Regions from separate parts of the Homo sapiens genome. Here region 2 is linked to region 1. The links are contacts of gene promoters, found by promoter capture Hi-C in blood cells and fetal thymus (Javierre and others, 2016). All regions are on one chromosome and are shown on one strand. Each heading gives the region's core, a stretch centred on a gene start or on the middle of the fragment in contact. The rest is flanking DNA. Distances are from core to core; before and after follow the strand shown.

Region 1 (2,700 bases), core at 133-2,632:
GCTCTCAACTTTTATTTTTACCTAAGTTTTGTACATTAGACAGCCTAAGTTTATTCTGTGATAAGATATATAGATCTTAAGTTTTCTATCAGCACTTCTCCACACATTATTGGGATGAACTGAAGAGGTTTACTGACCACTAGTGTGGTCTTCCCGGTAATGATTATGTAGTGATTGGATGCCATCCAGATTCCTTGGTCTGTCTGCATCTTTTCTTGAGCTTTACCTCATTATTTCCCTGTCCTGTCCACCCCAAGTTATGTTCGCTACTTGGTGAAAAGCTCTTGGCATATGGGATAGTCTCCTTTTCAAGCGTGTCATCTTGTAGTAAGAAAGCCTTGCCTGCGGCCAGTATATAAGTGGGTTTCCATATACCTGGACCAACTGAACAGCTGCCAGAATGGACTCAAGTGAGCAGAACATGAATCTAGATGATTACTATTTAATCACTGTAGCCAGTGATTGTGTATTACCAAGTAGTGAGACTGGGAGGGTGGGAATAGAAGAAGCAGTGGGATGACTACTGACATAACTTAAAAGTTAATGGGAGTATATATCCACTACTTATGAGCCTCTCATACCAATTAAGCTGTGGTGATACAAAAGAATATACTAGGCATTCCCAATCATGTTGCATCATCTAGCATTGCTCACTTAGAGCTGGGAGGAAAAAAATCAGCCAGAATCAGCATTATCAACTCCGTTGCAAGAAGGAATTACAAGACACATGATTTGAAAAGTGTAAATGTAAAAATATCAATTGAATACCCATTGACACTAAGCAAGTTTCTTTGTTTTTGAGCAACACTAATTTTGAGTACTTAAGACTGGTGCTTTACACACACCACTCCAAAAATCCACATAACCCCTGATTTGGTGTTTTCAGAAGAAAGATCAGAATAGTCTTGTCCTAGATTCCACAGCTTGTTAAGCAGCACAACTGTTATGAAAACCTTATTTCCGTACCCATGTTCTCTTCCACGAGGCTACCCTGCTTCCCCACCTCAACCCTGCTCTCCCCATCAACCTAGGTTCATCCTGGATTTGAACTTAATAATAGTGCTAATCATGAAAGTTAGGAAGAAATGGATCTTTCTTCCCTATAGGACTGAATGTAGTTACTCCAATTAAAACAGTAAAGTGAATAACTTCATGAAGTTCAAGGTTGGAATGCCATGAAGAATTATGCCCTGGGCGGCTTTACAATGGATAGGCCAATACGTCGCCACGGCTTTTAAGACTGGGAAACGGGGCACCAGGCTGGGCTTTAGAAATCGCTGGAGAAGCCTGGGTGCGGCCGCAGCCCGCGCGGCCTAGGACGGAAGCGACGCCCCGCCCCGCTCCGCGCCCCGGGCAGCCGTGTGCAGGCGCCTGCGGGCGGTATCCTCGGCGACGCCGTATGGCTTCCAGGGCGAGGCCATGTACCGGGTGCCCGAGTTTTATGCGAGGAGGAAGCGGTTAGGTGGGCAGACCCCTTACTTGATGGATGTAAGTGCAGCCTTGGTCGCCCCCATACCCGGGCTGGGCGCAAGGCGGGCCCTGCTGCCCCCAACCGGCGCCGCGCCCCTCGCCCTCCTCCAGAGGCGGGTCGTCGCCTTCGCCCCGGGCTGGCGGTTCTCAAAGACACCTGGCCATATTTGCCTAGAAAAAAAAAAAACTCTGGTGTATTTGACAGATGGTCAGAATTGAATTCTGGCTCCCTGCGCAGGTAGTTAGATATTTACGAAATCCCACCTCACCACCTCTAATTGGTTGGTTGCAAAATAGGGAGACCTACTGCGGGGGAAGCAGCCCCGCTCTGGATAGAAAGGCTGGTGGGTGCTAGCTTCCACGGTGAAAAGGGTGTACTTAACTTTTTGCCACTGCCTGTAAAGGGCAGGCTCAGTGTTGGAGCCCGGAAGTCTCCAGAACCAGACAGCTGAGGCTGTCCTGGGTATCAGTTTATTGTCTGAATTTCAATTAATTGGTAGATTGCTATGATGAGCTATATGTAGTCCCAATTTCCTTCCTATCTTTCGCCCTTCCCTTCCTCCGCTGCTTCTTTCCTCTTTTCCTACTTTCCTCCCTTCCTTTCTCCCTCTCCCTCCTTCCTGCCGTTCTACTGAAGCCACACCTAAAATCAATCAAAGCGATAAAATCCTAGCTTCAAGTTTAACGCTTTAGGATTCTACACTCTTACTGAAAGTGTAAAGAGGGACTAGTAGGAACCATTGTTTTTTGTTTCCTTCTTATTACTTAAAAGATGTGTTAGTAAGTAGGAATTATTGTTAAAGGTTTATTGTGGCATATGGATTGTAAATTGAGCTTTTAATTATTTTTGCTGCAATCATTTCGTTTTACAGCAGTTGGGATTACGATTAGGGATGTGGTACTGGAAAGATGAAACCAGAACTCTTGAATTCAGAAGGTAAAATTTAACAACACTTTATTAGAGTTTTTATAAAAATTACATGTGCCTGGGGGAAAAAAAAGCAACAGAAGAGTATAGAGAATAAATACCCACTGAACCTTTGCCATCTGGAAGGAAACAATCATTTCAGTGAACAGCCTTTCTCTGAACGCTTACCAGCTGCTTCACATGGACCAGACACTGTGCTAATGTTTACCAACTCTTTGAAACAGCTGCATGTTAACCAATTTACAGATGAAGAAACTGAGGTTTCAAAGGGTTCAGCGACTTGAGGAAAATTAAGTGACTTA
Region 2 (2,700 bases), core at 39-2,538, 60 kb after region 1:
CTGCCTCAGCCTCCCGAGTAGCTGGGACTACAGGCGCCCGCCACCATGCCTGGCTAATTTTTTTGTATTTTTAGTAGAGATGGGGTTTCACCGTGTTAGCCAGGATGGTCTCGATCTCCTGACCTTGTGATCCGCCCGACTCGGCCTCCCAAAGTGCTGGGATTACAGGCATGAGCCACTGCGCCCGGCCTTGTTTCCTATTTTTACAGCTTTATCTTGCTTATACATTTTCATTTGTTTCTTTTTTAAATTAAACTTTTTTTGAGATAATTACTGATTCATATGCAGTTGTAAGAAATAATACACAGAGATCCCGTGAAAGCTTTACCCAGTTTCTCCCAATGGTAGCATCTTGCAAAATTATAGTGCAATTTTACAGTGGATATTGATATTGAACCAGTCAAGACATAGGACATGGCAGGGCATGGTGGCTCATGCCTATAATCCCAGCATTTTGGGAGGCCAAGGCGGGAGGATTGCTTGAGCCCAGGAGCTTGAGACCACCCTGGGCAACATACTGAGACCCCACCTCTACTAAAAAAAAAAAAAAAAAAAAATAGCCGGGCGTAGTGGTGCACACCTGTGGTCCCAGCTACTTGGGAGGCTGAGATGGGAAGATCACTTGAACCCAGGAGGTTGAGGCTGCAGGGAGCTGTGATCATGCCACTGCACTCCAGCCTGGGTGATGCAGCAAGACCCTGTCTAAAACCACCACCACCACCATCAACAACAACAACAAAAACCAAGAGTCCCTCATGTTTTATAGCCACATACACTTCTTATTTCAAGAATGTTGTATGCATGGATTCATTTAGCATGTAATTTACTGGGATTGACTTTTTTACTCAGCATGATTCTCTGGAAATTCCACCCAGGTTGTTGCATTTATCAATAGTTTACTTTTATCGCTAACTAGTATTCTATTATGTGAATGTACCATAGTTTGTTTAATTTGTCCTTTGTAAGTCATCTGTGTTATTTCCAGTTTGGGGCTATTACAAATAAAGCTGCAAACATTCATCTACAGGTTTTTTTGTGTGTGAACGTTAAGTTTTCATTTCTCTGAGCTTATACCTTTTATAGTGAATTGTATTAGGTAGATGTATATAATCATAAATAAGGACTGCCTACTTTCTTTGTATCATGATTGTTATGAGCATGCTATTATCCTTTGTCCTCAGAGCCTCCCACTCTCTAACTCCTCTGTGGTCTAGAAGAAGCAGGTGAAACTTGCAAGGGTTACATGGTTTGTTTGTGGTTCCAGCAAAGCCAGAATTCTGATTTATATCCCTGATTCCTGGCTGAGTATGAAAATGACTGCAATTATTAATATATAGTTGCTATTTGCTTTTTCTCTCCAGAACCCTGGTCAATATGAGCCATGTTTGGTTTCAAGTTGCTTGCTTAGGAAAGGTTCAGAGATGTGATTGGACATTCTTTGATGTGACAAAACAAACATTTCAATAGAGATGGAAGTTCAATTGACTCCTAGTCCCACTTTATCTGGACCTAACATTTGAAGTTAAGATGATAACTTCATGGAATTATAGCTTTATAAAAATCTCTGCTAAAAAGAATGCTCAATTTAGAGAAAGGGACAGAACTAGTCTACCGTGAAACCCAAGCCATGCATTTTTTTTGAAGCCACATCTGACAAGCCTTCAATGGAAGAATAGAGAATGAGAAAGCATGTGCACCTTTTCATTTTTGAGGTTTGAAAGTGACACATACAGCTAAATGCCGCTTTCACTCTCTCTGCCTACATTGATGTAATATCTAGCAATTAAATTATGTTTGCTCATTTATTTCTTTTAGTATTCTGCTCACTCTGTGCCAGGGACTGGGTTGGAGGCTGGAAATCCAGAGATTAATAAGGTGCTCTTCCTATGCTTAAGAGGCTCACAGTCCAGAGGGAAGAACAGGTGCATATCTAAATGGTTACAAGAGGATGTGCTAAGTGCTACTGCAAAGTCCTCAAGTGGCTGTGGTACCAGAAGCAGCATCTAGTGACCACGGGTGGTAGCAGCAGGGGGTTCATTGGACTGGCCAGTCGTGCGGCCTTGCTTGTGGCTGTGGCTAGTTGTCCACCCTCCCTTTATTCTTGTCTGTTTTCTTAGCCATTCTGGAGACTGAACCCAATATTCTTTTTACCCAGTAATTTATCTTTCTGTTTAAATCAGCCAATCTTGATTGATAGGCTGTTAGTATCAGTCTCTTGGGAATACTTCCAGAATTATTTTCTGCATGTAAGGACTAAGCTTCATCTACTTGTGAATATCTTCAAATATTTCCATATAAGCTGGTAAATAGACACTGCTCCAGGCCCCTGAGACCCAGCCACTCTGGCCCCTTTTCTGGGACCCCCTTCTTTACAATCATCTAAAGGGTTATGCCATGCACAGATGTTCTGGCACTACAGGTGGCATTCTTTCTGATTGGTGCCTGTCGTGAGTTACTACACACAACACACACGCACACACACACGATATATATGTGTTACATGTATGTGTGTATAGTATAGTAAGTATATATAAGTATGTATACATAACAAATTTATGTCAAATGGAAACTTACTACACATTCTGTATGGCTAATGTGAGATCTTTCCATATTAACATGTTTAGATTTAATTAATTTTAAAGAAGATTGCTTGGTATTCTATTACATGGATTTAATCATAATCAATTTAAACAATTTGGG

Evidence for each region. Contacts are between HindIII fragments. The CHiCAGO score rates a contact against its expected background, and 5 or more counts as called.
Region 2: a fragment that was not itself captured here is called in contact with the fragment with the promoter of PPP1R36 in region 1 in 1 of 17 cell types (megakaryocytes); the score reaches 5.0 in megakaryocytes.

The regions. Positions count from the first base shown.
Region 1 is chr14:64,548,579-64,551,278 of GRCh38, forward strand. PPP1R36 (protein phosphatase 1 regulatory subunit 36) reads left to right here and starts at 1,383. Exons shown (of 12, transcript NM_172365.3): 1 at 1,383-1,488; 2 at 2,343-2,407. The coding sequence starts at 1,420. RefSeq lists a silencer at 1,249-1,538. The HindIII fragment of the contact is 10,629 bases long and covers 1-2,700 here.
Region 2 is chr14:64,608,549-64,611,248 of GRCh38, forward strand. No RefSeq gene overlaps it. Among named protein-coding and RNA genes, the nearest start is that of PPP1R36, 60 kb to the left of the region's middle. The HindIII fragment of the contact is 1,936 bases long and covers 321-2,256 here.